7 separate regions of the Homo sapiens genome follow, and all the other regions are linked to region 6. The links are contacts of gene promoters, found by promoter capture Hi-C in blood cells and fetal thymus (Javierre and others, 2016). All regions are on one chromosome and are shown on one strand. Each heading gives the region's core, a stretch centred on a gene start or on the middle of the fragment in contact. The rest is flanking DNA. Distances are from core to core; before and after follow the strand shown.

What was found. Contacts are between HindIII fragments. The CHiCAGO score rates a contact against its expected background, and 5 or more counts as called.
Region 1: a fragment that was not itself captured here is called in contact with the fragment with the promoter of MTCH2 in region 6 in 4 of 17 cell types (monocytes, M2 macrophages, M0 macrophages and 1 more); the score reaches 8.5 in monocytes.
Region 2: a fragment that was not itself captured here is called in contact with the fragment with the promoter of MTCH2 in region 6 in 1 of 17 cell types (neutrophils); the score reaches 5.5 in neutrophils.
Region 3: a fragment that was not itself captured here is called in contact with the fragment with the promoter of MTCH2 in region 6 in 1 of 17 cell types (neutrophils); the score reaches 5.8 in neutrophils.
Region 4: a fragment that was not itself captured here is called in contact with the fragment with the promoter of MTCH2 in region 6 in 1 of 17 cell types (naive B cells); the score reaches 5.3 in naive B cells.
Region 5: a fragment that was not itself captured here is called in contact with the fragment with the promoter of MTCH2 in region 6 in 3 of 17 cell types (total B cells, naive B cells and activated CD4 T cells); the score reaches 12.8 in total B cells.
Region 7: the fragment with the promoter of PACSIN3 here is called in contact with the fragment with the promoter of MTCH2 in region 6 in 1 of 17 cell types (neutrophils); the score reaches 6.2 in neutrophils.

Annotation. Positions count from the first base shown.
Region 1 is chr11:47,295,755-47,298,987 of GRCh38, reverse strand. It overlaps MADD (MAP kinase activating death domain), which reads right to left. Exons shown (of 37, transcript NM_001376571.1): 24 at 2,933-3,091. Among named protein-coding and RNA genes, the nearest start is that of MADD-AS1, 25 kb to the right of the region's middle. The HindIII fragment of the contact is 2,613 bases long and covers 317-2,929 here.
Region 2 is chr11:47,276,343-47,279,514 of GRCh38, reverse strand. MADD (MAP kinase activating death domain) reads right to left here. Exons shown (of 37, transcript NM_001376571.1): 5 at 2,652-2,783; 6 at 1,237-1,350; 7 at 436-516. Among named protein-coding and RNA genes, the nearest start is that of MADD-AS1, 5.8 kb to the right of the region's middle. The HindIII fragment of the contact is 3,970 bases long and covers 1-3,172 here.
Region 3 is chr11:47,257,111-47,260,115 of GRCh38, reverse strand. It overlaps NR1H3 (nuclear receptor subfamily 1 group H member 3), which reads right to left and starts at 2,120. Exons shown (of 10, transcript NM_005693.4): 1 at 1,987-2,120; 2 at 857-936; 3 at 137-325. The coding sequence starts at 899. RefSeq lists an enhancer at 112-680. The HindIII fragment of the contact is 1,012 bases long and covers 854-1,865 here.
Region 4 is chr11:48,135,251-48,138,172 of GRCh38, reverse strand. PTPRJ (protein tyrosine phosphatase receptor type J) reads right to left here. Exons shown (of 25, transcript NM_002843.4): 9 at 1,877-2,134; 10 at 892-1,170. Among named protein-coding and RNA genes, the nearest start is that of MIR3161, 40 kb to the right of the region's middle. The HindIII fragment of the contact is 7,863 bases long and covers 1-2,922 here.
Region 5 is chr11:48,113,302-48,116,083 of GRCh38, reverse strand. All of the region lies in intron 3 of PTPRJ (protein tyrosine phosphatase receptor type J), which reads right to left. Among named protein-coding and RNA genes, the nearest start is that of MIR3161, 18 kb to the right of the region's middle. The HindIII fragment of the contact is 657 bases long and covers 954-1,610 here.
Region 6 is chr11:47,641,118-47,644,196 of GRCh38, reverse strand. It overlaps MTCH2 (mitochondrial carrier 2), which reads left to right and starts at 1,638. Exons shown (of 13, transcript NM_014342.4): 1 at 1,638-1,818. The coding sequence starts at 1,732. RefSeq lists a silencer at 1,448-1,717. The HindIII fragment of the contact is 6,217 bases long and covers 1-3,079 here.
Region 7 is chr11:47,184,904-47,187,797 of GRCh38, reverse strand. It overlaps PACSIN3 (protein kinase C and casein kinase substrate in neurons 3), which reads left to right and starts at 1,364. Exons shown (of 11, transcript NM_016223.5): 1 at 1,364-1,449. RefSeq lists silencers at 1,266-1,365, 1,416-1,735 and an enhancer at 708-1,594. The HindIII fragment of the contact is 15,006 bases long and covers 1-2,894 here.

The DNA of each region.
Region 1 (3,233 bases), core at 374-2,873, 350 kb after region 6:
GCCAACTGTTTTTTGACAAAGGAACCAAGAATATTCACTGGGGATAGGGACAGTCTCTTCAATAAATGCTGCTCGGAAAACTTGATATCCATTATTCAGAAAAATAAAACTAGACCCCTTAGCTCTCACCATATACAAAAATCAACCCAAAATGGATTAAAGACTTAACTGTAAGACCCAAAACTATAAAACTACTAGAAGAAAACGTAGCAGAAATGCTTCAGGACATTGGTCTGGGCAAAAAGTTTATGGAGACCTCAAAAGTACAGGCAACAAAAGCAAAAGCAAAAACAGGATTATATTAAACTAAAAAGCTTCTACACAACAAAGGACACGATGAAATGAGTGAAGAGACAGTCTGCAGAATGGGAGAAAATATTTACAAACTATTCATCTGACAAGGGATTAATAGCCAGAATATACAAGAAAGAAAAAACTCAACAGCAAAAAAACACAAATAATCTATTTAAAAATGGGCAAATGAGCTGAATAGATCTCTCTCAAAAGAAGACATACAAATGGCTAACAGGTGTTTTGGAATAATGGGCCTCTACACAGGCCTTGAAGCCAAACTGCTGTAGACGGTTCTCACTGCCGCTTCCATTTATGAGAAACTGATGGTTGCTATCTTCACAGTTATGCGGCTGAAGAGTACAAGCAAGCACTGAGATGTCTTATAGTAAAAAGTTCAGAAGATGCTCAAGGTGGAGGATTTTCTTCTAAGCGAAGAGAAGTAATTTTCCTATTACTCTGGCTCCTTCCACCACAAATGTCATCCTTATTGGTTTGAAAAGCATCTAAAAGTAAACAGGAAGTATAGCAGGCTAGCCCCGTTGCCAATTTAATTTTTACGATCCATGGTTAGATTTTGTGGTGAAGGTTGAACTAATATGTAAAGAAGGCCGGGCGCGGTGGCTCATGCCTGTAATCCCAGCATTTTGGGAGGCCGAGGTGGGCAGATCACAAGGTCAGGAGATTGATACCATCCTGGCTAACACGGTGAAACCCCATCTCTCCTAAAAATACAAAAAATTAGCCGGGCATGGTGGTGGGCGCCTGTAGTCCCAGCTACTCGGGAGGCTGAGGAAGGAGAATGGTGTGAACCTGGGAGGTGGAGATTGCAGTGAGCAGAGATCGCGCCACTGCACTCCAGCCTGGGCGACAGAGCAAGATTCTATCTCAAAAAAAAAAAAAAAAAGAAAGAAAGAAAGAAAAGAAAAGAAAACATTATTGAAAACCCTTGGCCGGGAGCAGTGGCTCACGCCTGTAATCCCAGCACTTTGGTAGGCCAAGGCGAGCAGATCACGAAGTCAGGAGATCAAGACCGTCCTGGCTAACATGGTGAAACCCCATCTCCACTAAAAATACAAAAAATTAGCTGGGCGTGGTGGCGGGCACCCGTAGTCCCAGCTACTTGGGAGGCTGAGGCAAGAGAAGAGTGTGAACCCAGGAGGCGGAGCTTGCCGTGAGCCGAGATCGCACCACTGCACTCCAGCCTGGGTGACACAGCGAGACTCCATCTCAAAAAAAAAAAAAAGAAAAGAAAAGAAAACCCCTAATAAACTGTCAGCACAAAAGAAAAATCAATCACTCAATCAGCCAATCAGTCTGTTCAGACTGAGAGAGAGTTAAGGCCCATTAACTTGAGTAGCCTCTCAGTCCTATTCCCAATCTCCACTCTGGGAGGTCACTGACTCTATTAAAAACACACATACAGAAGGCTCTGGGGGTGGGAATGATAACCAGTTTTAAATAGTTGGTTTCATTTAACTTTTATCTTCCTTTCTCCCCATAGGCCTTAAAGATAAGGACCTATGCGTATAAGCTCTTGTAGAGAACATCCATTCTCATCTCTGTTTAATAAAGTAACAAGTCTATCAGTGTTTTAACACAGCCTATAGAGGCACATACACATTAAAAAGCAGAGGCTGGGCACAGTGGCTCATGCCACTTTAAGAGGCCAAGGCAGGAGGCTCACTTAACCCAGGAGTTTGAGACTGGCCTAGACAACAGAGGGAAACCCCATCTCTACAAAAAACTAAAAAATTAGCCAGGCATGGTGGTGTATGCCTGCAGTCCCAGCTACTTGGGAGGCTGAGGTGGGAGGATCACTTGAGCCTAACAGGTCAAAGCTGCAGTGAGCAGTTGAGCAGTGACTGTGCCACTACACTCCAGCCTGGGCAACAGAGTGAGACCCTGTGTAAAAAAAAAAAAAAAAAAAAACAACAAAAAACAGATGTCTACGGCAAGGACTAAAAAGAATTCATCTCCTTCCAGCTGATCATGGGCTTACTGTGTGATCTAGGGAAGTTCTTTTTTCCTAAGGCATTGTTCCCCTCACCTATTAGAAGAGACTACTCACAGCAATATAGTGAATCACAAACTTCTTGAGTAGAAACCATGCCTTTTTCATCCCTGTTTCTTTAGCACAAAATCTGGCACTTAGTAAATCACTTCATGGATGTTTATTAATGAATGAAAACTTCAAATAACTGTTAGGAATATACTAAAATAAAATGCTATTTTATTTATAAATAGAGCAGTGACCAAAATAAAACTGGATAGTCCATAGAAATAGGCAGACTGGTACTAAACGAGAGCTGTAATTGTCCTGACATTGCCACAAAGGTATTACTTTGCCTGTGTTAAACCTGGGGGTTAATACTACATAGGATTCAAAGCCCTTACGTGACTGGGCACGGAGCCTAACTCATCAATGATTCAGGAGAGGGTTCTAAAAGCCCCAGATTGTGAGTCAAATGACTCTGAACAAAGCCTTAAGAAATGTTTTCCTTAAAGCCAAATATAAGAAGATTACCTCTTCCTTATTTAACCTTTACCTCTTTAGCGTCTCTTAACTTTCATTCTTTTCTTGCCTGCTTCCCTCCCCCATTAAAGAAATGGTTTTCTTTTGTTAATAAACAAAGCTTACAAAGATGGTGCTTGTGGCAGAGTTGGTCTCAATTTCACTATCAGACAAAGTGCCCCGAGAGCTTGCCAGGTGAACACTGCCCTCGCCACCTGGTCCATCACCTGCATTGCTGCTCAAGTCACTGTCAGCTCCAAGGGTCTCTCCAGAGCTATTACTCACCTGGAAAGGAAAAAAGGTAGTAAGAGACAGTCCCCAGGGATGGGCCCCAGAAATACCAAGCTGTTAGAGCTCCCTGCCACCATAAAAAAGTATTAAATTTCAAAAGTGTGTCAGATAGCCTCTGGAAGTACCTTCTTTATAA
Region 2 (3,172 bases), core at 68-2,567, 360 kb after region 6:
CCCAGCTCCTGGAGAGGCAGAAGAATGGCGTGAACTCAGAAGGCAGAGCTTGCAGTGAGCCGAGATCGCGCCACTGCACTCCAGCCTAGGGGACAGAGCAAGACTCCACATCTCAAAAAAAAAAAAAAAAAAAGACTGAGAAAATGTTCTGAAGCCATAGAGAGTGGCACACATACAAGAAACAGAGAGTGAAGGGCTATTTTATACAGCATCATAAGCATTAGAAGATGGTAAAGCATACAATGAATTGGAATCAAAAACAGAAATTCACTCTGCCACCCAGAAATGGGATACGCGTTTTCTTAAGCCCATCCAGGGTGAAGAAAACTACTCCACTTGAAGTTTGATAGGAAATTGGCTCTGAGAATAGCTGTCTTCTTATAGGAATCCCACAGCATCTAATACTCCCCTTTCTTTCCTTCGTTCTTCACCTACCTGCTTTAAATGCTTTTTCAGCTCTAGTGATTCTGGTTCTGGCAGGATAGGCAGCACTTCTGCATTGGTGGGGGCAATCACCTGCACCAGAGAAATGATAAAAGACGTGACCTTAGAGTTTATTGCTCAGGAATTTCACTTACATAAATAAAAATAAGAGGACGTATATACATTATTATTATATAAACGAATATACATTATATAACTGCACAGTAAGATATATGTACACACATATATGACATACATATGCATCTGAAATGAAATATAACTTAATGTTATTGGTTATTATCTCTAGATAAAAGGATTATGGTTTTTCTTTTCACTTATTTTATTTACGCTTATTTTTATTTTTTTTAAGTTTTACAATGAGCACACATAAGGGCTTCCCACCAAAGTCTGAATGTATTCACATTGCAGAATGGTCATATAATTAATTAAGCCTGCACTGAAAGACAGTTTCTTACTGGAAACTATACCCCAGGGAAACCATTAAGAGATGATCTATACCACATGTAATGGCCCTCAGATCACAACTGTCTGACTGCTCTTGGAGGATATGGTGGGGGGTCACTTAATTCTGGCAAAAATAAATCCTGTAATTCTCTGAGACCTAACCAAGGGTTTATTTGGCTAATAAGGTAAAAGGAGCATTTAAAAAAACTTGTTTCAGTAAGTCTCGCAATAGAAATTATCCAACAACTTAGGACGTTCCTGAAAGGAATCTAGAAACAGATATCTCAGGACTGGGTCTAGAATGCAATCCTCCTCTAGACTCTACAATGCCTCAGCCAAGAACCTCACCCTATTGCTGTCCAGATCCACTAGCCATACATCATCAGGCATTTTGAAGTCCAGTTTGTAGAGGAAGAAGCTGGCAGGAACCCCAATGATGTACGGGGTTGGAGCCAACAGCAGCTGTGGAAATGATAAAGAAGGTGAGAAACAAAGACAAAACCTATCATGAGCACTTATCAAGTCTGGATTCTTCTAGATAAGGAAATGCAGATACAATCCCTCTTCCAAAACTCTTGAGGCCAGATGTATTTGAAAATTCAGAATTTTTCAGATTTTTTGAAAGGTAACATGGTACATTTTTTTGTATACAGTAGTCTTTCTTATCCACAGTTTCACTTTCTGTGATTCCAGTTAACTGAGGCAAACTGTAGTCTGAAAATATTAAAAGGAAAATTCCAGAAATAAACAATTCATAAATTTTAAACTGCAGCTTGATCATATCTGAAGTGCAGGACAATAGTTCTGAGAAGCATGATGAAATCTCATGCTGTCCCGCTCTGTCCCACCCAGACATGAATCACCCCTGTGTCCAGCCTGTAGCCATCTCGGTTATCAGATCAACTGTCACACAATCTCAGCGTTTGTGTTCAAGTAACCCTTATTTTACTTAATAATGGCCCCAAAGCACAAGGGTACTGATGCTGGCAATTGGGATATGCCAAAGAGAAGCCAAATATATGTAGAAAGAGGCTGGGCACGGTGGCTCATGCCTGTAATCCCAGCACTTTGGGAGGCTGAGGCAGGCGGATCACCTAAGGTCAAGAGTTCAAGACCAGCCCAGCCAACATGGTGAAACCCCGCCTCTACTAAAAATACAAAAAATTATTTGGTGTGTGGTGGTGGCAGTGCCTGTAATCCCAGCTACTAGGGAGGCTGAAGCAGGAGAATCACTTGAACCTGGAAGGCAGAGGCTCCAGTGGGCCGAGATTGTGCCACTGTACTCCAGCCTGGGGGATAGAGGGAGACTCTGTCTCCAAAAAACACCAAATATATGCCCAAAGAGAAAACTGTTACTCTCTTACTGTGTCTAATTCATAAATTAAACGGTATCACCGGTATATATGTATAGAAAAAAACAAAGTATCTATAGAGTTTGGAACTATCTGTGGTTTGAGGCATCCACTGGTGGGTCTTGGAATGTGTCCTCCACAGATAAGGAGGAACTACTGTATTACGTAACACACGTAACACCTGCTGCAGTGTAGCCAGTGGCCTACAGTCATTAACATTTGTTGTGATAAATGAAAACTAAAATAGCATAAGCCTTGCCACCAGATCAGTTCAAATCAGTCAGATTTTGTAGACAAATAAGTTATGACAAAGGATTGAGGACCAGCACTCACTTACAACTTCTTTGAGCATTAAGCCTCCTCCCTCAGGAAGACAGAGGTGAGAAAGCCGGAAGTCGCCTTGAGACTCACCTGCTCTGCTGATGCCATGCAGGTGGGTAGCAGCGGGATGACAGGAAACATATACTCCAGTGGGTAGATCATTGCCACGAATGCCATCACAGACATGGAGAGTGCATTGTAGTCTCGGGACTGTAGCACCACCTGTCATGAGCCATCCAGTAAGAATCACTCCAAAACATAAAATATGGTTTACAAGAAAACAGCTTCCAACATTACAACTTGGTTTCCACTTCATCGAGCCTACAGCTCCAGCTTTGTCTCTCCCACTGCCCCCTGCCCCACCATGCCTGCCACCTCCCAATCCAGGCACAATGGTGATCCTCAGTCACCTGAGATATGCAAATCACTCCCTTACCTTCCTAGTTCTTGTACTGCCCATCCCAGGACCACTCACTGAAACAGAACTACTGATATTTCCAAAGAATTAGGTCAGTACAATTAAGGATAAGCCCTAATGAATGGTAAACCCTCTAAATACATCCCACATGATACCAGTATCTTAATTCAACCCACATCTACGGAACACCTGC
Region 3 (3,005 bases), core at 110-2,609, 380 kb after region 6:
TCAGATTTAGTTAGCTCTAAAGCCTCTGAACTTAACCATGAGATTATATATAAAGTAAAAACCCCCAAGGAACCTCTTCCAGATCCAGGACCTGGAATCTGGACCCCTACCTCCTCCAAACCCAGAAGCTCCTCACCTGTGGGTTCTGAAGGGGGCTCTGCCCTGGTGAGCAGGGCTGTGGGCTCTGCAGCCTCCAGCCCCACCCCTGCAGTACCCCCAGCAGAGTGGGGCATCCTGGCTTCCTCTCTGAGGATGCAGCTGCTGCCTCCCTGGGCCTGGCTGCTTGCATCCTGTGCGCCTGGCTTCCACAGCTCCACCGCAGAGTCTGAGCTCCAAAAGAGAGGCACAAGGGGGTCTCAGGCCCCATCCCGGCTCCACGGCCCAGCGTCCTAGCTGGGAAACTGCAAACTTATCCCCACCCTTAGAGGGCAGCAAAGTCCCAGCTCAGGCTTTGGGACCCTAGAGTCTGTGTGGGCTCTAGCTAGGACTAGTCACTTGTAGTTTCTTACATCTCAGGACCTTAAATGAAGATGTTAATCCTTGTCCCTTTGGGGGGCTGGAGTGTATGCATTTCAGAGATCAGATAAAACTCTTCAAAGCCAGAGCAGGGTAAGCACTCAGCTGGCCAACTCTCTAGCAGCAAATCCAGACTGGGGAGGACTGGGCGGGTGCCTGCAAGGGCCAGGCACTGGAACCAGGGGAGAGGTGATCTGGGCGGGAGGCAAGCACGACTAAGAATGACTCTGGACTGCTCTCTGGAGGAAGGAAGAAGGCAGGTAATGAAGGAGGCTGATTCCTACAGGAGGCGTGGAGCCTGCGGTCTGGGCTCAGGGGAGAGGGATGGAATGAAGCTTACCAGGAGGAATGTCAGGCACAGGGGCCCCCAGCCACAAGGACATCTCTTCCTGGAGCCCTGGTCATTACCAAGGCACTGTCCTGCAGGAAGGACCCAGATTATACTCTTCTAGAACTGGGCTCCTTTCTGGCCTCAGCTCCCTTCTCCACCTGATCCTCCCTTTTATCAATATCAACAATATCAGCTAACATTTACTTGCCATATATTAGCCTGTACTAAGGCTTTATTATATTACTATTATGTTTTTTAGAGACAGGTTCTCCCTATTTTGCCCAGGCTAGTCTAGGAATTCCTGGGCTCAAGTGATCCTCTCACCTGGGCCTCCCAAAGTGTGGGGATTATTGGAGTAAGCCACTGCGCCCAGCCTGTTATAAGGCTTTATGTGCTTTCCTCATAATATCCCTCTGAGGTCAAAACTATTAATTTTTTTTTTGAGATGGGGTCTCTCTATGTTGCCCAGGCTGGAACTCAGTGCTATTCACAGGTGCAATAATAGGACACTATCGCCTCAAACTACTGGGCTGAAGCAATCAGGTTTCAGCTTCCTGAGTATCTGAGATTATGGGCGCACGCTACTGCTCCTGGCTCAGGACTATTCTTAAACTCATTTTACAGATAAGCAAACTGAGGTTCAAAGAGATTAAGTAACTATGGTCACACAGTTAGGCGGCGGTAGAGTCAAGACTCCAACCCTCCTCTGACTCCAAAGTCTGGGCTCCCAGCCACCGTGCCGGCTTTTCTCCCCCAAAGTCCCCTCCAGGCCAGCAGGGAATGTTTGGGTGCATCTGCCCTGCTTCTCTTGGGCCCCTTCCCCCTCACTCCAACACTGAGGACAGCTCACTCCACCCAGTGAAACACGCTGCTTATTAGAGAACCTCGCTCGTGCCACTTTCCAGGGTCCCAGCACAAACCTGTCTCCAAGAATCTCCCCAATTCACATAGAGGACCTCCTCCCCTGAGCCCCTCATGAGTTATTCTGGGACCCAGAGTCCTGCTCCTGTCCCAAGCTTCCATCACCATCACCCCTCACTTCTCCCCAGAAACCCCCTTCTCAGATCCTTAGGACATTCCCCGACCCCACCCCAGATACACACACAGAGCCCCAGGCCACTGCTAAGGAGCAGACCCACCAAATCCCCAGGCCACCAGACTTCCTGGGTGGGCAGTCTCTGGAGCCCCCTTGCTGGGAGAAGAGGATGGTGCAGTTTCCTGTCCAGAAGTCTCGGTGGCCAGCCAGTGAGCTGGAGCTGAGCACAAGCAGGACCTGGAGCCCCAGAGAAGTAGCAATTTGGGGAAAGGCTGAGGGGAGGGACTGCCGAGGGGTCAGGCCACCCCTCCTTCCTGCCTGGTGACCACAGCCCTCCCCTCCTCACCCCCGCCCACAGGGCAGCTTCTCCACCAGGCTGGCTCCTCCCCAGCCGGCCACCCCCTCTCCCGCCACTCCCGCCCCCTACTCCCGGCCAAAACAGTGGCATTTCCCTGCAGACCAGCCAAGTTCCATGTCTCTCCCCTTCCTCTCCTTACCCAGCGCTCTTAGCAGCTCTTGCAAAAGGACTGCCTCCCAGGAACCCCCACCCCAATCCCAGCAGCCTCCAGAATCGTGTTCCCTCCCCTCCATAGGCACCTCGTGGAGCAAAGGTCCCAGCACGGCCCGGAATTGCGACACTGAGCCCCAGCGGCTTTCCCAGCCTCCCTCCTCCTCCCTTGCCTCTGGGAAGAGGCCAAGAAGCTCTCCCCACTAGCCCCAGGCCTCAGCCAAGCTGGTAGAAATCCAGGGGTGGAGAGAGGCAGGTGCTGGGCCTTCCAGGGAGTTTCTGAAAGTGGGTGCCCTGCGGGGGCCACAGATAAGAGAGGAGGCCAGGAGAGCCTTTGATAGGAAATCTGCTATGAGCAGTGGCAGGCCTGGGATAGGGGTGGAGGTGGCAGAAGGAAGACAGGCAACTCAGGTGGCAGCCCAGGATGGACCTGGGAAGGTATGCGGGTTGCCTCTTCTGGGGAACAACCCCATCTGAAGTGATGGCAGGCTCCAACCAGCAGCTACTGAGACTATAGTCATTCTTCCTACTCTGCTGCCTGGGGCATGAAATCCATCCCTGAAAGTAGACATCATATTTTATTGATTTCATCTCCCCCAACACCCCTGAAACAG
Region 4 (2,922 bases), core at 211-2,710, 490 kb before region 6:
CTCCTATACTACCAGGGAGGCTGATCCCATGAGACCATCACTTCCAAATCAGCCTGAACATATCTGAATGGCCTGGGCTAAAAAGGGAAGAGGTAGGAGCGAGAAGGGCAGAAAATGAGTAGTGCACGGGTGCTGAGTGATAAAGGTGCCACAGTCAGCACTGTGAGCAGAAGTGCCCACCACTGTCTGCAAAGCCTTTCCTGGGCTGCCCTGAAAGCATCCTCAATTACACAGAGGGCTCTTCTCTTTATCACACATTTTCAGTTGTGAGATAGGTGAGGATCAAGAAGGATGCAAAGGCTGGGCATCATTTCAATAAACTTTTCATCTTCTCCAGCACAAAAGACAAACCAATGCCAGATATCATCCACATCCTGGCTCAGCCCCACTCAGGCCTCACCTCCCACCTATATCCTCCTGTTCCTGCGGGTCCACTCCTCCCACCCTTGCCTCCTGCTCTTCCTCCAGCCTCCAGATACAGTGGTGATGCTGCACAGGCCCCTCTGCACAGGCCTCTGCCTGTAATGTTCTCATGCCCTGATATCCACATGGCTGGCTCCTTCCCTTCATTCAGATCTTTGCTCAAAAGTCACCTTGTCATTGAGGCCTTTCCTGAGCACTCTAGGTAAACATCCCACTTCCTCCTTCGAAAAGTTCCAAGAAGGCAAGGACTTGACTGGCATATGGTATATGCTCAATAAATATTTATTGAATGCAGAAATGATGAGGGCATCGAGACAGCACCGATAAGCTAACAGGATGCCTCGGAAAGCTCAATGTCCATCACTGCACATCACACAAAACCAGACAAACTACAGACTTGGGAGGACTGACCTGCAAGGTCAGCACCACTCAGGGAGGAGTCCAAGAGGCAGTTGGGGCTACACTCACCTGTACAGAATGACTTCCGGCCAGGTTCCAGTGACTTGATCCCATCCCCTACTTGTGCAAAGATCTCCACTGTGTATGATGAGCCAGGTATTAATTCAGTGACTGTAGCGTCAGTAATTCCAATGTCCGTGACTACTTGTGTTGCGTTGCTGGAATTTCCAGCCTTCTCAATAAGAAGGCAGTAGGAGTACGTGGGAGAGGCGTCATCAAAGTTCTGCCAACTTAAAGTTGCTGCTGTGGTGTTGGTACTTACATCAATGTTGGACACATTGCTGGGCCCTTGATTTTAAAAAAAAGGCAATTCATGTAAAAGCACAGATTAAGTAGAATTCCAGGACTATTTACTATATCCAAAAATAGCCTGGCTCGTTTTAGAAAGAATGAATAAAACTAGTATTTGCTGGCTCAAAAGATGGAAAACTTCCCAAAAACACATCAAGAAAATAATTATACAGATTAAGTCTCAAAAGAAGTTTAATTTAGGCTTCTTTTAATACTTCAAGTTTATTTCAAATATATTTTTAACATTTAATTTCTAATCTGTTTTTTAAATCTAATAGATGGAGAAAAATATACTAAAAACATATTACAAACTAACATCTTTACCATGTATTTAATTCAAATATTCGCAAAACACCTCCCTAACTGTTGCAGGCGAAGCTCCTCATCTGGGCAGTATCTTCCAATACCAACATGACAAGGTGACCCTTCTCTACTCTGTATTCTCAAGGAATGACTAGAACCATTTCAGTCACCATTCCCAAGGAATCATTTCTTCCTTCTAATGACAATTCTAAGTTCACATAGCTTGAAGAACAGTGCCCCATGGTGACAGCAGAACCATTGCTGAGACCAATGTTTTCAACTTCAGCAGTTTCAGAGTCAACCTGGATCCCAGAAGCACACTGGCCATCATTTAACCAGTGCCTCCTCCAAGAGACAGTTAGAGAGGCTGTTCCTTAGAAGGGCATCCTAAGAGACTTACGTGTGTACTGTGCAGTGGAGTTGGGGTCCCCCCAGACGTGGTCCACTTCTGGAGAGATGGTGATGTTATATAAGGTGCCCGGAATCAGGCCCTGGAGAGTAATCGCTTTGTCATACGTGCTTGTGTGGTTAGAGCCATGCTTGGACTCTATGACTAAATGGTAGACATACTCGGAAGCACCGTCAGGGCTCTTCCAGTCCAGCCACATCTCCGTGGTGGTGACGTAGACCACGTGGATGTCAAACACTGCACTGGGAACTGCTCAGAAGAAAGGAAGGAGAAGGGAAAACTGTTACTATCATGACGCCCAGCTTCCTCTCCAAGTGCTGTCGAGAGGACCTGCTCTTTTGCCATTACGCTTTCTAATGAGTTCACAAAAGGCACACTCCAAAATCGAGCTGAGAAATGCACACACTCAGTGCTCTCAAGAATTTCAGCTCTTCTGTGACGCACATGAACTTCCCAGTTTATCTTACCAGTTCTCCAGTTTTTTGTTGTTGTCTTAAAAATGAGCCCTTAGGCTGGGTGCAATGGCTCATGCCTGTAATCCCAACATTTTGGGAAGCCGAGATGGATCACTTGAGGTCAGAGGTTCGAGACTAGCCTGGCCAACATGGTGAAAACCCATCTCTACTAAAAATACAAAAATTAGTTGGGTGTGGTGGTACACGCCTGTAATCCCAGCTACTCGGGAGGCTGGGGCACAAGAGTCGCTTGAACCCAGAAGGCAGAGGTTGCAGTGAGCCGATATCACACCACTGCACTCCAGCCTGGGCGACAGAATGAGGCTCTGTCTCAAAAAAAAAAAAAAAAAAAAAAAGGCCAGGCGCGGTGGATCACGCCTGTAATCCCAGCACTTTGGGCAGCCAAGGCAGGCGGATCACCTGAAGTCGGGAGTTTGAGACCAGCCTGACCAGCATGGAGAAACCCCGTCTCTATCAAAAAAAGTACAAAATTAGCCGGGCGTGGTGGTGCATGCCTGTAGTCCCAGCTACTTGGGAGGCTGAGGCAGGAGAATCACTTGAACCCGGAAGGCAGAGGTTGCA
Region 5 (2,782 bases), core at 33-2,532, 470 kb before region 6:
TTTCAAGGTTATTATTGATAGGTAAGAACTTACTACTGCCATTTGGTTGTTTTATAGACTCTTTGTTCCTTCCGTCCTCTCTTACTATCTTCCTTTGAGGTTAAGTGATATTCTCTAGTAGTATGTTTTGATTCCTTGCTTTTTATTTTTTGTGTATCTACTAAAGGTTCTTCTTTGTGGTTACCATGAGGCTTATAAAAAGAATCTTATAGTTATAACAGGTTATTTTATGCTGATGACAACTTTGATCACACACACAAATTGACCTCTACACTTCTAGTCCATTCCCCACTCATATTATGAATTGTTTATGTCACCATTTACATCTTTTTATATTGCATATCCCCCCTGCAAGTTATTGTAGTTATTATTTTTTAAGTATTATCTTTTAACTTTCATATTAAAGATATGTATGACCATTACAGTATTCATGTATTCTGAATTTGACTGTGTATTTATTTTACTAGTCTTATCCTTTCATATGTTTTCAATTAATCACTAGTGTCCTTTTCTTTCAGCTTAAAAACTCTCTTTAGCATTTCTTATAAGACATGTCTAGTGGTGATGAACTCCCTCAGCTTTTGTTTCTCTGGTAAAGTCTTTTATCTTGCCTTCATTTTTGATGGCCAGTTCTGCTGGGTATAGCAATCTTGGTTGGCAGGTTGTTTTCCCTCAGCATGGTGAATATATCATCCCACTCTCTCCTGGCCTGTAAGTTTCTGCTGAGAAGTCTGCTGCTAGCTGAAGTGGAGCTCCCTTACATGTTATTTGCTTCTTTTCTCTTTTTGCTTTCCAAATCCCCATTGTCTGTGATGTTTGACAGTGTGATTATGTTCTGGAGTAGTCTTGTTTGAATTGACTCTGATTGGAGTCATTTGTCCTTCCTGTACCTGGATATTTATATCTTTCTCCAGGTTTGGAGAGTTTTCTGCTACTATTTCTTTAAATAAGCTTTCTACCTCTTTATCTTTCTCTTCCCCTAGATGAACTCCAATTCAAATACCACGTCTTTTGATGCTGTTGCATAAATCCTATAGGCATTCTTCATTCCTTTTTATCCACTTTTTTATTTTTCCTCCTCTGTATATTTTCAAATAATCTGTCTTCAAGTTCAAGGATTATTTCTTCTACTTGATCAGTTCTACTCTTGGTGCTCTCTATTACATTTTTCATTTTGTTCAAAGTATTTTTTAGCTTCAGAATTTCTGTTTGCTTCTCTGTTAAATATCTCAATCTAGTCACTTATTGTTTTCCTCATTTCTTTGAATTCTTTATCTGTATTTTCTTAAAGTTTGCTAGGCTTCCTTAAAACATGTATTTTGAATTCTCTGTCAGACAGTTCATACATCTCCCATCTCTTTATGGTCAACCACTTGCACTTTATTTTGTTTCTCTGGTAATATCACGTTTCCCTGATTATTCTTGATCCTTGTGACTCTGTGTTGATGTCTGTATATTTGAAGAAGTAGGTTCTTATTCCAATCATTGTAGATTGGCTTCCTCTGGAAATGCCCTTCAACAGTAAGCCTGTCCAGTGATTTCTGGGAAGACCATCTGGTATGGTCCCAACCTCTAAGCCCAAATTTTTGTAACAATAATTAACATAAGCTTGCTAGGAATTTTTCTTTTTTTTTTTTTTTTTTTTTTTTTTTTTGAGACAGAGTCTCACTCTGTCGGGAGTGCAGTGGCACCATCTCCACTCACTGCAACCTCTGCCTCCTGGGTTCAAGCAATTCTCCTGCCTCAGCCTCCCGAGTAGCTGGGATTACAGGCATGCATGACCACACCCGGCTAATTTTTGTATTTTTAACAGAGACGGGGTTTTGCCATGTTGGCCAGGCTGGCCTTGAACTCCTGACCTCAGGTGATCACCCACCTTAGCCTCCCAAAGTGCTGTGATTACAGGCATGAGCCACTGTGCCCAGCCCCTTAGGAATTTCTAAAAGTTTCTCATATTACCCTAGAAATAATTCAATGACTTATTTTAACTGTGTATGTGATTTTATCAATACTTCTAGAACTAACAAAACTATTGTATCACAATGTTTTTTATGAAAAATTATAAATAAATAATCTACCTTCCCAACAACAGGGGAGCAGTTAAATAATTTACAATGCTTTTAGACAAGTAATTCTTAAACACTGTGGTCTCAGGGCCCTTTTAACTTCTTAAAAATTATTAAGGCTCCCGGAGAATTTTTGTTTATATGGGTTATATTGATTAATATTTACCATACTGTATTAGAAATAAAAAAGATAAAGTTTTTTAAACAATATGAAAGCATACATTCCATTAGCTGTAAGAGTGACAGTGTCATCCCAAATCATATAGAATCTGCAAGACTCCACTGTACACTCATGATAAAATGAGAGTAAAGAAGCCAAATAACATGTTAGTAGTATTATGAAAACAATACCCAGAAATACCTTGAAAGAATCTAGGAGACCCCTAGAGATCTCTGAACCACAGTTTTAGAATCAATTATCTAACCCAGGTATCAGCAATGTTTTTCTGTAAGGGCCACAGAATAAATATTTCAGGCTTTACAAGCCACAAATTCTCCATTGCCACTACTCAATTCTAGCATGAAAGCAGCCATAGGCAGACTCAATAAAACTTTACTTACAAAAACAGAAAGTGATCTATATTTGGCCCAAGGACCATTATTATCTGCCAACCCTGATTTAGAAAATAGAATGCCAGGCAGGTATTAAAACTGTCCTGTAGAAATGTATATACTAACAGGGAAGAATATTTGTAATATATTGGTGAGAAGCTACA
Region 6 (3,079 bases), core at 389-2,888:
GACTGAGTCTCGCCCTGTCACCCAGGCTGGAGTGCAATGGCGCAATCTTGGCTCACTGCAACCTCCAACTCCCGAGTTCAAGCGATTCTCCTGCCTCAGCCTCCCGAGTAGCTGGGATTACAGGCACCCGCCATCACACCCAACTAATTTTTGTACTTTTAGTACAGATGGGGTTTCACCATGTCGGTCAGGCTGGTCTTGAACTCCCGACCTCAGGTGATCCACCCACCTCAGCCTTCTAAAGTGTTGGGATTACAGGTGTGAGCCACCGTGCCCAGCCAATATCTGTATTTCAATATAAAGTTTTTTAAAAAAAACCCTTTCCTATGCATAATTTCACTTAATGCTCATAATAACCCTGAGAGATACACAGTAGTGTTAGATTTAGATACAAAAACTGGAAATTAAAGTAGCTAAAATGACAAATGGATGCAGTGGAAAAGCCAGGATCCAAATCCAAGTCTTTCCCCTACAGTACTTCACTCTGCTCCAAGCTCAGATTCACCAAATGTTGTTTGATAGAACACGTGAGCTGGGGCTGAAGGAGCAGGGACAATGCCTTTTTCACTTTTGCCTCTGATAGCCTGTAGACTGGTAGGCACTGAAGTATTTGTTCACTTGTGCAATAAATATTTATTGAGCACCTCGTATGTGCTGGGCACTGAAAACACAACCGTGAACAGAGGCTGTCACGGTTCCTGAACTCATGGAGCTTTCATTCCAGTGGAGGAGACATAATTTCAGTGATAATGCTACGACGGGGCACAATGTGGGAGAAAATAAGAGGGAGGTGGCCAGGCGCGATGGCTCCTCACTCCTGTAATCCCAGCACTTTGGGAGGCCAAGGCGGGTGAATCACGAGGTCAGGAGTTTGAGACCAGCCCGGCCAACATCGTGAAACCCCGTCTCTACTAAATAGACAAAAATTAGCCGGGCGTGGTGGCGTGTGCGTGTAATCCCAGCTACTAGGGAGGCTGAGGCAGGAGCATTGCTTGAACCTGGGAGGCGAAGGTTGCAGTGAGCTGAGATCGGGCCACTGCACTCCAGCCTGGGTGACAGAGCGAGACTCCGTCTCAAAAAAAAAAAAAAAAAGAAAGAAAAAGAAAAGGGGGAGGTAATTTTAGAATGGTCAGAGAAGGTTTTTTTGAAAAGATAACATTAATCAAACGAATAAATGAATGAAAAGCCACTCGCTAGCGGATTCATTATTTGCTATACTTATTTAGAGTTTGTCAGTCACGAGACTGTTACGGCTCTGATGCTGAGTATCTTTTGAATCCTATGTTGATGATGCCCAAAAGGCAAGTGCAGAGATGAAGCATAATGAAGAATCCTTTTCAATTTCTTTTCAGTCCTCTGACCTTGCCTCTGCCGTCACGGTCACACTCCCCCACTGACACTCCCATTCTTCTGTTTCCGGACACTTGCGGCCTGGAAGCGCATGTGCAAGAGAAACCGTCATTCCTGGTGAAGGGCGAGCCCCCGGCAGAACGCATGCGCCTCTGTCCCTTAAGCCCCGCCCCGACCTCAGCGCCCCCTCGCGAGCGCCTGCCGTTTCTCGGGGCGGGACGGGGGGGCGGGGACTGGGCGGAGAGGCGCGTGCTGCTGCGTGCGTGCGCGCGCGCCGCGGGCGGGCCAGTGAAACCGGCGGCCCTGGCACGTGACCTAGGACCGGCTCACCGGGTCGCTTGGTGGCTCCGTCTGTCTGTCCGTCCGCCCGCGGGTGCCATCATGGCGGACGCGGCCAGTCAGGTGCTCCTGGGCTCCGGTCTCACCATCCTGTCCCAGCCGCTCATGTACGTGAAAGTGCTCATCCAGGTATGAGGCGTCGCCGCTCCCTACCCCGCCCGGCGCCCCGTTCGGTCGCTGCTGCTCAGGGCGCCTGAGGATCGGCTCAGCCTTGCGGGCCTTTCATTCTCCCGAGATGCTGCTGCTCCTCCGCTGCCCTTTACCTCCCCGCAGGGACAGCTTCCTCAGTCCCGCGGCCCCGCTTGGGGGCCTCGCCGAGCCCTCGCCTCGCCGCCCAGCGTTGAGGCCCTCTCCTCCCTTAGCCAACCGCCACCCGGCCCTGCCCTGCCCGGCGGATCCTCTGAACTTTGGTTCTTCGTCACTGAGGTGGATCCTGGCCGGTCGCCACCAAAGGCTTCCGAACCCTCCCTCTCGCCCCTCCGAAATTCACATTCACCACTACTCCCCCCAAAATCTCAGACGCAAAACACGAAATACTCAGTTGAAGACAAATGTGAAGTTAGGTGGGAACCAACATTTTATTTTTTATTCCTTTTTTTTTTCTTTTTATGCTACTGTTACTACTGCTTTTCTGTTCCGAGGTTTTCGCACCAGATACTGAGAGAAACACAAGGAGCTCATTCAGAAGTGTTAATGAAGGGGTTGCTCTGTCAGATTTCGGAAGGATGCATTGAGCGCTTTCCAGCAGCGGCCCATGTGGCTCCTGACAATGAAAATCACATTTGTCAGAGCTGGAAATTAGTGAAGCTGAGTTTTAGCGAGTTTAAACATGGGAGTTAGTTTCTAATCTACTGTCAAATAATTATTACATGGTATTTTATATTCACATGCAGGTAGGCCAAGTAAGTGATAGACTTAGTGTTTCCAGTTCCTTTGCTATATCCCTGTAATGGGCAGGTCATTCTTTTTTTTATGCTTTTACTGAGAGTTGACATAATTACCTCATGCACTGTGCCTAGGAATGGAACAGTTTTTAGAACCCCTGTCTCGCCGTCTACTTTTCTGTAAAAAATAGGCAAGACACTAGAGAGGGCCCCATTTCTTATTCTTGAGTTGTTGGGAATCCAAATTATTTCTTGCTGAGTAGACCTGTGTGAATTCAGATTCCATATGTTAAAGGCTATTGCAAATAAATTCTTTGTACTTAGAACAAAGACTGATTAGAATGTACTGTAACATCCAAAACAGAATTGGCACATTTGGGGCTAGATAGCATCGGAGGTGACAGCATGTTGCAGTATATAGTAAGAACCCTTGGGGCCGGGCGCGTTCGCTCACGCCTTCCCAGCACTTTGGGAGGCCGAGGTGAGCGGATCACGAGGTCGATGTT
Region 7 (2,894 bases), core at 115-2,614, 460 kb after region 6:
TACCCTTCCATTAGCACTGCCCAGCAAGTGAGCCCTCGGCAGGCAAAATTACCCCCATTCATTTTCTCCAGGTCCCTTTCCCGTTTTGTGAGCGGATTCATCTGCGTAAAGAACGCGTCAGTGATTCCTCCTGGATTTAGAAACAACATAATTTTGCTATTTTTAAAGCTGCCGTTTAAAACTCCGCGCGCACGCACTCACACTCTTCAGGGAGCTGAGGGTGGGAGGAAAAGTACGAGCTTCAGAGGGCGCAGCCAGGCGCCTCAGCTTCCCAGGGCTCAGAGCCGCGTCCCTGGGGGCGCACTCCTCTGAGAGCGCCGGGGCTCTCCGACCCGCTGCGATTCTGCGCGCCCGGGACCTTCTGCGTCCGGGACCTTCTGCGCCCGGGCGTTCGACCCCGTTGGTCCGCGCTCCCCCTGGTCTTCAAGGCTCAGGGCACCGCCGCTGGGTCACCGGGCCCAGGAGAGAGTGGGAGGGGCGGAGAGGCCGAGCAGGTGGCGATTAGGTCAGCTTCGGAACATTCTTGGACCGCTCCAGTGGATATAAATAACAGACGGAGCCGCTCTGCAAAATCTCACCCCCGGGGGAAAGCGGGGAGAGGGAAGTAGGGAGAGAGGAGGGAGAAGGGATTTATTTAGCGTGGGGTGGCATCGTGGCGATATGGAAAAATGTACCAGACTGATAAAGGGGGTGGAGGGGCGAAGGGTAAGAATGAATCGTGGTACAAAATCTGGAAATAAGAACTCGGAGCGGGAGGAGCTTAGGCCTTTTTGTCCCACCCCCACCGCGTGTTCGTCTCAGGCCTTAGAAGGCGCCCCAGATTAGCAGGGCAGCTGTGGAACGGTAGGGCACGGTTTTGGAGTCCCAGCCCTGCCTGACTAGAGGGAAATCTTGGGCAAGCCTCTGAAAAGCCCCCGAGCCTCAGTTTTTGCATCTGTACAGTGGGAATCCTAATGCTTACAAGGGGTGGTTGTGAGCCTCGCCTGAGCCAATTTCTAAACAAGCTGTGCAGCTAAAAATGTAAGGCAGTGTAATTCCCCCGGCCCCTCTCCAAGGCTGCCCGTGCCGGCCCGGTCCCTTCTTGCTCCCTCGGGTCTCCCAGGCTCTGCAACGGTCCGGGAGAGGCAAAGCCGAAATCTGGCTCCCTGCGGCACCGGGGCGCAACCCTGGGGAGCCCGCCCAGGCACTCCGCACACGGGCGAAGCAGAGAAACCTCGACCCGCGCCACAAGAGCCGCTGGTCGCCGCGATGCCTGCAGCCCCGCTGCCCCGCCGCGTGGGGTTGAGGCAGCGGCGGCCAGGAGAGGGGCGGGGCCGGGGGCCGGGGGCCGGGCTTCCCGGGGGAGGGCCCGGCGCGCTCCGGGAGGCCGCGGCGCGGGCCCAGGAGCGGCAGGACTCGGGCCGGAGCGTGGCCGGACCCCCACCCGCCGAGGGGCCCAGGGAGGACGCGGTGAGTGCCCTGGAGGGGACGCGCGGGTAGGCGGCGGCGGGTGCGGTGGCTCGAGCCCGCCCTCTCCTGCTCCGGCTTCTGAAGTTTGCAATGGAGCCGACTCCCGCCCAGGGAGCCCCCGGCCACCCCGCTCTGCGTGCCGACGGGAAGGGCCGTAGCCGCGCCGAGGGGCCGTCCCATCTGCGGTGCCGCGGGCTTCGCAATTCCGCAGGCCGCCCGGGGGAGGCGGCGCCGGCGCTGGAGGGCTGAGCCGTCTTCAGGGGCCCCTCGAGGGCCCCCGTCCGCTCGCCTCGCGCCCGCCCCGAGGCCCCAGAGGGTCCTCGCTCCCTGGCGATCCCTCGCCCTATGCAGCGAGCCCCGATTCCTGGGTCCGCTGCCCGGGGCCACCATCTGGAGCCCACGGCAAGGCCGGCCCAGGCAGGGGGCGTCCCCTCCCCTTGGCGGTGATCAGTGGCCCCACCCCCGCCAAGACCAAGTTCAACAAGTTTGGCCAAGAAGTCTAGAGCTTCGGTGGCTAGGCCTGGCCCTGCCGCTCCGCGTGGCTCCACGGGCTCCGAGTTATGCAGCTCCGGGCGGCAAGGGGTCCTGTCGAGGGGCGCGGTCCATAAGGGTTGAGGCCAGAGGCGCGTAGCCTCTGGGCGCCGAGCTCTGGAGTGGAGGCTGGGGTTCGGAGTGCGTCATCTGGAAGCAGGCACCCCGGCCGGCAGGTCGGGTTTCCAAAAGTGCCCCTTTGTTATGCCCCTCCCTGGCCCTGCCTCCTCCCGCTTTGGCTGCGCCACCCCCTCCCCCAGCCTCCTGATCTCCTGGCTGGCTCTGGCTTCTGGTTCCAGCCCCTCTAACCTCGCTGTCCCTCTTCGGACCAGCCTACTGACGCCCCCTCCCCTCCCCCCCGCTCTGTCCTCAAATCCTAGAGCTGCGGGCGCACCGGGAGGGGCTGCCCGGGAAAGAAGCCCTTGGGCGCAGCCTGTGACTCAGGTTCCAGGGATGGGCCAGGCAGAATGGCTGAGCTCCCTCCCAGGGGCAAGCCCCCAGCTTCTGGAAGAGGTTGGGGCTGGTCTGGGGCCGGGTACCTTCAGGCCTCAGGTAGGGAGACTGGGTCTTCCCTGAACCAGGGACTTCCTACCTTGGCCCGTGCAGCTGCAAGGAGACCCTGCCAAGCCCAGGAAGACCTCTCGGAGCCGAACGTGCTGGCTCCCGGGGCTGGGAAGATTGCATTACCTGCTTTCTGAGCTCTTGCCTGCGGTGGGGACTGATTTGGGTCTCTGCTGAGCTCAGGAGGCACAGGGTGCCAACCTGCTCAATGGGGGCCAAGGTGCAAGCCCTCCTTGCTTGCTTGCTGAGAGGTCAGGCTGGGGCTGTGGGGCCTGGCTGCACCCGGGGCTTGGGCCTGTGTTTGCTCTGGGAGGCCGGAGGGAGCTGTGCCAGCCCGGTACACACAGCTTGCT